Regions from separate parts of the Homo sapiens genome. Here all the other regions are linked to region 1. Evidence: promoter capture Hi-C in human tissues and cell types (Jung and others, 2019). All regions are on one chromosome and are shown on one strand. The core of a region is centred on a gene start or on the middle of the fragment in contact, and the rest is flanking DNA. Distances in the headings are between cores, read along the strand shown.

Region 1 (3,489 bases), core at 461-2,960:
GGGGTTCTGAGAGGAGCAGGAGAAAAAAACAGAGAACTGCCGAGGGAAGGGGACTGATAAGTCCCCAAGCCAAGATGGGTGTTATGCCCAGGGTCAGGGCTGAGCTTCCTGGAGAAAGAACCAAAAGGACAGAAACCAACACAAAGTCTGTCCAGCTTTTGGGGGTGTAATGGGATTGGAAGCCCCAGTGTACCAGAGGGACACGGGAGCAGTGTGTGTGTGTGTGTGTGTGTGCATGCATGCACACTAATGGGGGAATTACATGATGTTGTGTCGTCCTGGGGGCACCCTCACTAGTCAGAAGTCTCAATAGCAGAGTGGCTTGCAGGTGAACAGAAGTCTCTGTGGCATGAGGTCAGCAACTAAAGTAGCTGTCTCCCATGGTGTTCTAGCAAATACTATCTTGGCATTCAAGATCCCACTCAAAAGCCCCTTCCTCTGTGAAGTCCTTCCTGATGCCTTCCCCACTCATCCATATTGCACCCTGCTTTAATGTGCTCCCACTGCATCCTGAGCAGGTCCATAACATTGCACCTGTCACGCTTCATTGCGTATGCGTATTGGCTTATCCTCTCTCTGTCTGCCTGTCTTTCTGTTCCATATACATCTGCCTCCCCCAGGGGCAGAGGCTGTGTCTTAATCACCTGTGTAGCCCCAGCACCTGGCACAGTGCCTGACACCCAGGAGATGCTCAATAAATGGCTGCTATATTAATACATGAGCAGCTTAAGGGGATGGAGGGCGAAGGTAAATGCTCTTGCGTACTCATCGCAGACCACAATGTGCCCAAATGTCTTCATGTGTGGTTTGCAGCTCCCCAGGCAACTGCTTACTTCCCTTACTTACTGATTTCACCAGGAATTACTTGTTTTGTTTCCTTAAGATCTGTGCATGGCACAGCCCCTCCCACAAGGGTAAGGCCATATGGGTTGAATCTTGGGGGGTGTTGGGTACATTGTGGCACCGGGAAGAAGCCTTGGGAGTCAGTCCTTCAGCAGATGCCCTCATGTGACCAGGATATGAGGTTGGGTGTCCTTAAGCAATTATGTCCATTTCCTGTGTCTCCTTATAAAATGGTGGCTAGGGAACTGGACATCATTCTCAAAGCTATGACGTTCAGCAAGGTATGTGATGGCTTTTAAGGAGCACGGGAAGATCACATCCTGCTGTATTCCGGGTTAGTTTGAGTGAGTACATGTGTGACAAGGACAGCCCAGTGTTCCTGTATATGTGACTGCAGATATCCTTAGCTAGTGTAACAATGTTGAAAGTGATGTGAGAAGGGGTATGTTTCCCAATGTGTATCCGCCGGGGGCTGTAACTGTCGTGGTGTCACAGTGAGTTTATGTACTGGCGCCTGTGTGTGTCAAGATATGTGTGAGCCTGTGAGTCGTGGGTGCATGTGTCGCCATCATTTCTCTGTTTGAATGTGTATGTGCATGCCACTGCAATGTGCGCATCTCTGCGATTCTGGGTGTGGGTGTAGTGTGAAGGGGAAGATGTGTGTCACTGTGTCTGTGGGGGTCCTGCCTCTAAGCCACCCCCAGCCTGCCCTCCTCCCCCGGTTCTGTGGCTCCCTCCCAGGCTGTGGCCCTGCCCCTTCCCTCTTCTCCCTCCCAATCCATCCACGCGGGGGGAGCTGGTGCTGCGCCCCCCCCCACCCCTCCCCATCCAGGCCCCATAAATAGCAGCAGAGCCGGAGCTGGAGCCGGCGCCAGCGGCTGGAGCAGCAAGGGAGTCAGGGCCAGGGCCAGAGAGCCGGAGAGAGGAGCCCCCGACCGAGAGCCCAGGTGAGCCCACCCTTCCTCCCCAGCCCAGCCCCAGCCCAGCCCAGCTTGGCCCAGTCTCCATAACAACATCTCCTGGAGCCCGCAGAGAGATCCCAGCCCTGCCCAATCCCTTCACCACCACAAGCCCCTGCCTATCTCGGGGACCCCCAAGAACTGGGAGACTTGTGGCTGGAAGGCAGAGACCCCCCTCCCCCAGCCCAGACCCTCCCTCACATATCCAGAAAGGCACACACTGTGGGGAGGTAGATACCCAGCCAGAGAAAGGTCCCACTTCTGAGGGAGGTACAGGAACTGTCACACCCTCCTGGAAACGGACACACGACATGGGGGGACAGACACGGAGGGTGGGGCACTCAGACACACCAATGCACACTCACTCGGGGAAGCATGACATGGGATCAGACAGCCTCACCCTGAGATCTGTACAGACACAGATAGATGGACTGACCGGCCATGAACTCTGGCCGGCATACCCCTGCCTGCTTCAGCCCGAGGCTTGGTACCACTGCTGGGGGAAGGTGGCATGCGTGCATCCCACGGGCAGCATGGAGGGAGCCACGACTCCCCAAAAATCCTGTCGCTAAGAGACGGTGCCAGTGCTGCCAAGAAGTGTGAAAACAGGGGAGGTGGGGAGGGATGTGAGGCTTGTCACAGTTAGAGCTCCTGCCAGGAGCCTGAAGGAGCTTTCAGCAGAGCCCTGGTCCTGCCTCCCAGCCCACCACCACTCCTTTTCCATCAGCTAGCCAGAAGGGGAATGGGGGTAGGGAGTGGATAGGGATAGCCCAGCAGGGGACTTTCCAACCTGTCTCCTGCCCACTGCAGACTCCACTTCTGAGACCCATCCTCTTCAGAACTCCAGAGGCCTCTCCACCCCCTGCCCCACCCCCTTGCCCTAGTTTAGCTCCCTCGTGCCAAGACTGAGTGCAGCGCTGGCACAACACCAGTCGGGAAATAGCAGAAGGTGCTGAGGCGGCAGAAAGTGTAGATCAATCGATGGCCTAGGAGCCAAGACTGCCAGGAACATCCCCACCCCAATCCTTCAGCCCTCTCCAGCCCCATCCACGCATACCTAGGCCAGCAGCACAGGGCTTCTGAGCAGGAGTGGGAGGCTCAGGTCCTCTGCCCTCCCCTGCTCAGAACTCTGGTGAAGCTGAGGAAGCAGGAGGTCCGTGAGGCCCCAGGGTCTAGGGAAGGAGGTTAAGGGGTGGGGCCCAGGGACCCTAGAGGATAGACCCCTCTGCTGGCAGGTGTTCCCTTTCCAGAGTCCAGGCCACCTGCTCTGTCCCCACAGTGACATGTCGGACCCTGAGATGGGATGGGTGCCTGAGCCCCCAACCATGACGCTGGGGGCCTCTCGGGTGGAGCTGCGGGTGTCCTGCCATGGCCTCCTGGACCGGGACACACTCACCAAACCCCACCCCTGCGTGCTGCTCAAGCTCTACTCTGATGAGCAGTGGGTGGAGGTGAGAGCAGCTCAGGTTTCTCCTTAACTAACCTGGGTTAAGCTTGGGAAAGAGGGAGGCTGGGTGGGAGCAGTGAAAGCCTTGCAGGGAAATGTGTGGACTCTGCGGCGCCTTCTCGAGGCCGCTTGGGTACCCTGGAGATGGTGTCCCAGAGGGTCCTGAGATTGACCCAGAGGCAGTGGGGTTGCTCCCAAAGGCCTCATGATAGCCCGGAGGACTGAGAGTCCAGTGGGCAG
Region 2 (3,489 bases), core at 686-3,185, 490 kb before region 1:
ACAGGGTGTGATGCCTTGTTGGAAGCTATACTGTATTCTGAGCTGCAAATTAAGTGTAGGGTCCAATGAAGTCCCGAAGAAATCTCTGACAGAAGTACTCCCAGAATGTGGGATGCACAGTCCCAGCGCCCCCATGTCTCCCTGAGTGAGCCAGCCTTCCAGCCCCTTTCTTTTCTGTCCCTACAGGCTCTACAGTTCCCTCCTTCAGGGCAGGGGCACTTTTTTTTTTCAGAGAGTGCACTGGTTTGTTTTGCCACAATTTACCAACATTCAGGTGTCAGAGAAACGGGAAGTAATGTTTGAAGGAGCAGCTCTGTGCTAGGAGCCAGGTACTGTGCTTGGCGCGCAATCTGTATGACCTCATTCCATCCTCACAGCAAAACTGTCACTGTGAGCAGTCCAGGCTGGAGGCCTGGAGCTAGGTGTCCAAAGATGGTCAGACTTATGTCTGAATTCTGACTCTATCTGCCACCTACTAGTTGGGTGAACCTGAGCATATCACCTAACTTTTCTGAGCTGCAGTTTGTTTATCTCTAAAATAGGATTATGATAATCTACTCCATGCCTTATTTTGAGGATCAAAATGATCATGTATGAAGTGTAAGTATGCATAATATGTATAATATAGGAGGGAAAACCACTTGGCATAGTGTCCAGCACATAGTGAGTGCCCAGTAAATAATGGCTTGAAAAATAGATTGGCATTATGCCAGTTTTATAGGTGAGAAATCTGGGACCCAGCAGTTAATTTGCTTAATGTTGCCCAGCTAATAGATGGCAGCCCTTGGAGCTTGATATATATCAGACTCCCAAGTTAATATGCTTTAACAAATGCAATTTTGGGGGTCCTGTTTATAAAACATGCTCATTGTAGAATAAGAAAATACAGCATATCAAGAATAAAAATTAAAACCACCCCTAGTCTCACTGTATAACAGTTTAGTATATTTTTATATAGTCTTCTATGTACTTTTAACATAATTAAAAACAGTGCATATACAATTTTGTATCCTACTTATTCACTTAGTTTTCATTGTAAGCATTTTTTTTTATTATACTTTAAGTTCTGGGGTACATGTGCAGAAGGTGCAGGTTTGTTACATAGGTATACACGTGCCATGGTGGTTTGCTGCACCCATCAACCCATCACCTACATTAGGTATTTCTCCTAATGCTGTCCGTCCCATAGCCCCCCACCCCCCTACAGGCCACAGTGTGTGATATTACCCTTCCTGTGTCCATGTGTTCTCCTTGTTCAACTCCCACTTATGAGTGAGAACATGCAGTGTTTGTGTGTCCGGCGTTGGTGGGTTCTTGGTCTCACTGACTTCAAGAATGAAGCCGCGGACCCTCGTGGTGAGTGTTACAGCTCTTAAGGTGGCGCGTCTGAAGTTTGTTCCTTCTGATGTTCAGATGTGCTCTGAGTTTCTTCCTTCTGGTGGGTTCGTGGTCTCGCTGGCTCAGGAGTGAAGCTGCAGACCTTCGCGGTGAGTGTTACAGCTCTTAAGGTAGCGCGTCTGGAGTTGTTCGTTCCTCCTGGTGGGCTCGTTGTCTCGCTGGGTTCAGGAGTGAAGCTGCAGATCTTCACGGTGAGTGTTACAGCTCATAAAAGGAGCGTGGACCCAAAGCGTGAGCAGTAGCAAGATTTATTGCAAAGAGTGAAAGAACAAAGCTTCCACAGTGTGGAAGGGGACCCGAGCGGGTTGCCAATGCTGGCTCGGGCAGCCTGCTTTTATTCTCTTATCTGGCCCCACCCACATCCTGCTGATTGGTAGAGCTGAGTGGCCTGTTTTGTCAGGGTGCTGATTGGTGCGTTTACAATCCCTGAGCTAGATATAAAGACTCCACGTCCCCATCAGATTAGTTAGATACAGAGTTTCAACACACAGGTTCTCCAAGGCCCCACCAGAGCAGCTAGATACAGAGTGTCGATTGGTGCACTCACAAACCTTCAGCTAAACACAGGGTGCTGATTGGTGTGTTTACAAACCTTGAGATAGATACAGAGTGCCGATTGGTGTATTTACAATCCTTGAGCTAGACATAAAGGTTCTCCATGTCCTCACCAGAGCAGCTAGATACAGAGTGTCGATTGGTGCACTCACAAACCTTGAGCTAAACACAGAGTGCTGATTGGTGTATTTACAATCCCTGAGCTAGATATAAAGACTCTCCACGTCCCCACCAGACTCAGGAGCCCAGCTGGCTTCACCTAGTGGATCCTGCACCGGGGCTGCAGGTGGAGCTGCCTGCCAGTCCTGCACCGTGTGCTCGCATTCCTCAGCCCTTGGGTGGTCGATGGGACTGGGCGCAGTGGAGCAGGGGGTGGTGCTCGTCGGGGAGGCTCGGGCCGCACAGGAAACCATGGAGTGGGTGGGAGGCTCAGGCATGGCGGGCTGCAGGTCCCGAGTCCTGCCCCATGGGAAGGCAGCTAAGGCCCTGGCAAGAAATCGAGCGCAGCGCCGGTGGGCCAGCACTGCTGGGGGACTCAGTACACCCTCCGCAGCCACTGGCCCGGGTGCTAAGTCCCCCATTGCCCGGGGCCAGCAGGGCTGGCTGGTTGCTCCGAGTGCGGGGCCCGCCAAGCCCACGCCCACCCGGAACTCCAGCTGGCCCACAAGCGCCGCATGCAGCCCCGGTTCCCACTGGTGCCTCTCCCTCCACACCTCCCTGCAAGCTGAGGGAGTGGGCTCCGGCCTTGGCCAGCCCAGAAAGGGGCTCCCACAGTGCAGTGGGGGGCTGAAGGGCTCCTCAAATGCCACCAAAGTGGGAGCCCAGGCAGGGGAGGTGCCGAGAGCAAGCGAGGGCTCTGAGGACTGCCAGCATGCTGTCACCTCTCATTTGGTTTTCTGTTCTTGTGATAGTTTGCTGAGAATGATGGTTTCCAGCTTCATCTATGTCCCTGCAAAGGACATGAACTCATCCTTTTTTTATGGCTGCATAGTATTCCATGGTGTATATGTACCACATTTTCTTTATCCATTCTATCATTCATGGACATTCAGGTTGGTTCCAAGTCTTTGCTATTGTGAATAGTGCCGCAATAAACATATGTGTGCATGTGTCTTTATAGTAGAATGATTTATAATCCTTTGGGTATATACCCAGTAATGGGATTGCTAGGTCAAATGGTATTTCTGGTTCTAGATCCTTGAGGAATCGCCACACTGTCTTCCACGATGTTTGAACTAATTTACACTCCCACCAACAGTGTAAAAGTGTTCCTATTTCTCCACATCCTCTCCAGCATCTGTTGTTTCCTGACTTTTTAATGTTTGCCATTCTAACTGGTGTGAGATAGTATCTCCTTGTAGTTTTGATTTGCATTTCTCTAATGACCAGTGATAATGAGCATTTTTTCATATGTTTGTTGGCTGTATAAATGTCTTCTTTTGAGAAGTGTCTGTTCATATCCTTTGCCCACTTTTTACTGGGGTTGTTTTTTCTTGTAAATTTGTTTAAGTTCTTTGTAGATTCTGGATATTAGAC
Region 3 (3,489 bases), core at 618-3,117, 440 kb before region 1:
ATATAGAATTGTTTTACCTGTTGTTGAAACTTGTGGACTCAAATAATATGTATTCTTTTGTGTCTGACTTCTTTTACTCAACAGTATATTTTTTAAGATTCCTTTATGTTGTTCAGTGTGGCTTCAGCTCATTCATTTTCATTATTGTATAGTATTCCATTATAGAAATGCAACACAGTTTGTTTATCCATTCCACCGTTAATAGGCATATAGACTTTGATATGGTTTAGGTCTGTGTCCCTGCCCAAATCTCATGTCGAATTGTAATCCCCAATGTTGGAGGAGGGGGCCTAGTGGAAGGTGATTGGATCATGGGGGCAGATTTCCCCCTTGCTGCTCTTGTGATAGTGAGTGAGTTCTCATGAGATCTGGTTGTTTGGAAGTGTGTAGCACCTCCCCCTTTGCTCTCACTTCCTCCTGCTCCAGCTGTGTAAGTTCTGCCTGCTTCATTTCACCTTCTGCCTTAATTGTAAGTTTCCTGAGGCCTTCCCAGCCATGCTTCCTGTACAGCCTGTGGAATTGTGAGTCAATTAAACCTCTTTTCTTTATAAATTACCCAGTCTCAGGTAGTTCTTTTTTTTTTTGAGACAGGGTCTTGCTCTCTCTCCCAGGCTGGAGTACGGTGGTGCAATCTCAGCCTACCACAGCCTTGACCTCCTGGGCTCAAGCAATCGTCCCATCTTAGTCTCCCGAGTAGCTGTGACTACAGGCATGCACCACCACACCCAGCTAATTTTTATAGAGACATGGTTTCACCTTGTTGCCCAGGCTGGTCTCAAACTCCTGAGCTCAAGGGATCTGCCCACCTTGGCCTTCCAAAGTACTGGGATTACAGGTGTGAGCTACCGTGCCTGGCCTCAGTTAGTTCTTTATAGCAGTGTGAAAACAAACTAATACAGACTTGTTTCCAGTTTGGAACATTCTAAGCAGGCTTCTCTGAACCTGTGTGTACAGTCTCTTGGTGCACACATGACCTCCTGTCTGCAGGATGCAAGTTCCCTCTACAGAGTCAGAGATCTTTATTTTCAACTTCTCCGTATAATGCCAAATCATTTCCCAAAGTGATTGTACTTACCCTCTACCCAGCAGTGAATGAGAGTTTCTGTTGATTTTGCTTTTTCAACTAGAAGTGAGAGGTGACAATATGCTAGCAGCCCTTGCTCACTCTTGGTGCCTCCTCGTCCTCCACATCCACTCTGGCTGCACTTGAGGAGCCCTTCAGCCCACCACTGCACTGTGGGGGCCCCTCTCTGGGGCTGGCCAAGGCCGAAGCCAGCTCCCTCTGCTCGCCAGGAGGTGTGGAGGGAGAGGCGCCGGCAGGAGCCCACACTGTACAGGGCACTCACCGGCCAGCAGGGGCTCCGTGGGCCGGCCGGTGCCAGCTGGGCCTGACTGGGGGATGAGCTCCCTCTGGGCTGCTGGAGTGCCTGGGCTAGGTGCCGCAAAGTCCTGCAGTGTGTGCCATTGAGAGGTGAAGCCGGCTGGGCTTCTGGGTCCGGTGGGGACCTGGAGAACTTTTCTGTCTAGCTAAAGGTTTGTAAATGCACCCATCAGCACTCTGTGTCTAGCTAAAGGTTTGTAAATGCACCAATCAGCAATCTGTGTCTAGCCAATCTGGTGGGGACTTGGAGAACTTTTGTGTCTAGCTAAAGGATTGTAAATGCACCAATCAGCACTCTGTGTCTAGCTAAAGGTTTGTAAATGCACCAATCAGCACTCTGTCAAAACGGACCAATCAGCTCTCTGTAAAACAGACCAATCAGCTCTCTGTAAAATGGACCAATCAGCTCTCCATAAAATGGACCAATCAGCAGGATGTGGGTGTGGCCAGTTAAGGGAATAAAAGCAGGCTGCCTGAGCCGGCAGCAGCAACCTGCTCTGGTTCCCTTCCACGCTGTGGAAGCTTTGTTCTTTTGGTCTTCATGATAAATCTTGCTGCTGCTCACTCGTTGGGTCCGTGCCACCTTTAAGAGCTGTAACACTCACCGCGAAGGTCTGCAACTTCACTCCTGGGGCCAGCAAGACCACGAATGCACCGAGAGGAATGAACAACTCTGGACACACCATCTTTAAGAACCGTAATACTCACCGCAAGGGTCTGCAACTTCATTCTTGAAGTCAGTGAGGCCAAGAACCCATCAATTCCGTACACATTTTGGTGACTTTGAAGAGACTGTCACCTATCACCAAGTGGTGAGACTATTGCCAAGCAGTGAGACTATTGCCAAGTGGTGAGACCATCACCAAGCGGTGAGACTATCACCTATCGCCAAGTGGTGAGTACCATCAGATCCCTTTCATTTGCTATTCTGTCCTATTTTTCCTTAGAATTCGGTGGCTAAATTCTGGGCACCTGTCGGCCAGTTAAAAGTGACTAGCGCAGCCGCTGGACTAAAAACGTGGGTGTCAGGCTTTCTGGGAAAGGGATCTCTAACAACCCCTGGCTCTGTGGAGTTGGGAATGTTGTTTTGCCTGGAACCAGCTTCCGCTTTTCCTGTACTTCTGGGCTGAGCTGAGGGTCAACAGAGAGGAAAGCCATTCAGCTCCGGAGTCCCCACAACAAGTTGGTTGACCCTGCGGCCATGAGCGGAACTCTCAAAGGCATGTTGCCCAAGTGAGACTCACCTATCTATCCTATCTATCCTGACCCTTGCTCGCTGGGTCCTAATGCCTGCCAGACAAACTTTCTCTCTCCTCTCTTCTCCTAGGCTAGTCCCACTTCTAAAAAACCACTCCCTGTCTCTGGTGCTTTTCTAATTTCTCTTATAAGAATGATTTCTAGTAAAAATTTCAGGACTCTGTTACCTTCTTTAGGCACCTGGGCTCACCAATCAGAAAGACATAATTTTTGCCCAAAGCCCAGTTGTAGGGGGAACTATCTGGAATTTTAGAATCCCTCCTCAGATAAGCAGGTCTAACAAAAGCTATTCCTGAAGCTAGGATAGGGGGAGCCTCAGAAATTGTATCCTTCCTATTCATATAAGTGAGGACAAAAGGTGTCACTTTTCCAACCCTGGAGACCCCTTCCCTCCCTCAGGTTACTCTTCTTCATTTTTGGGGCATAACATCTTTATAGGACACGGGTAAGTTCCCAATACTAACAGGAGAATGCTTAGGACTCTAACAGGTTTTCGAGAATGCGTCGGTAAGGGCCACTAAATCCGATTTTTCTCGGTCCTCCTCATGGTCTAGGAGGACAAGCAAGGGTGCAGCACTCTATGTCTAGCTAATCAGGTGGGGACTTGGAGAACTTTTGTGTCTAGCGAAAGGATTGTAAATGCACCAATCAGCACTCTGTGTCTAGCTAAAGGTTTGTAAACACAGCAATCAGCACTCTGTCAAAATGGACCAATCAGCTCTCTATAAAACAGACCAATCAGCTCTCTGTAAAATGGACCAATCAGCAGGATGTGGACAGGGCCAGATAAGGGAATAAAAGCAGGCCACCCGAGCCAGCAGCAGCAACCTGCTTGAGTCCCCTTCCACACT

What was found. Contacts are between HindIII fragments. The study calls those that stand out against the background at their distance.
Region 2: a fragment that was not itself captured here is called in contact with the fragment with the promoter of CPNE6 in region 1 in 2 of the 25 tissues and cell types used here (H1 embryonic stem cells and dorsolateral prefrontal cortex).
Region 3: the fragment with the promoter of DHRS2 here is called in contact with the fragment with the promoter of CPNE6 in region 1 in 1 of the 25 tissues and cell types used here (dorsolateral prefrontal cortex).

Annotation. Positions count from the first base shown.
Region 1 is chr14:24,069,852-24,073,340 of GRCh38, forward strand. It overlaps CPNE6 (copine 6), which reads left to right and starts at 1,711. Exons shown (of 17, transcript NM_006032.4): 1 at 1,711-1,790; 2 at 3,082-3,253. The coding sequence starts at 3,086. The HindIII fragment of the contact is 9,770 bases long and covers 1-3,489 here.
Region 2 is chr14:23,582,608-23,586,096 of GRCh38, forward strand. No RefSeq gene overlaps it. Among named protein-coding and RNA genes, the nearest start is that of JPH4, 5.6 kb to the left of the region's middle. RefSeq lists an enhancer at 2,539-3,038. The HindIII fragment of the contact is 8,014 bases long and covers 1-3,489 here.
Region 3 is chr14:23,634,497-23,637,985 of GRCh38, forward strand. It overlaps DHRS2 (dehydrogenase/reductase 2), which reads left to right and starts at 1,868. Exons shown (of 9, transcript NM_005794.4): 1 at 1,868-2,276. The HindIII fragment of the contact is 10,677 bases long and covers 1-3,489 here.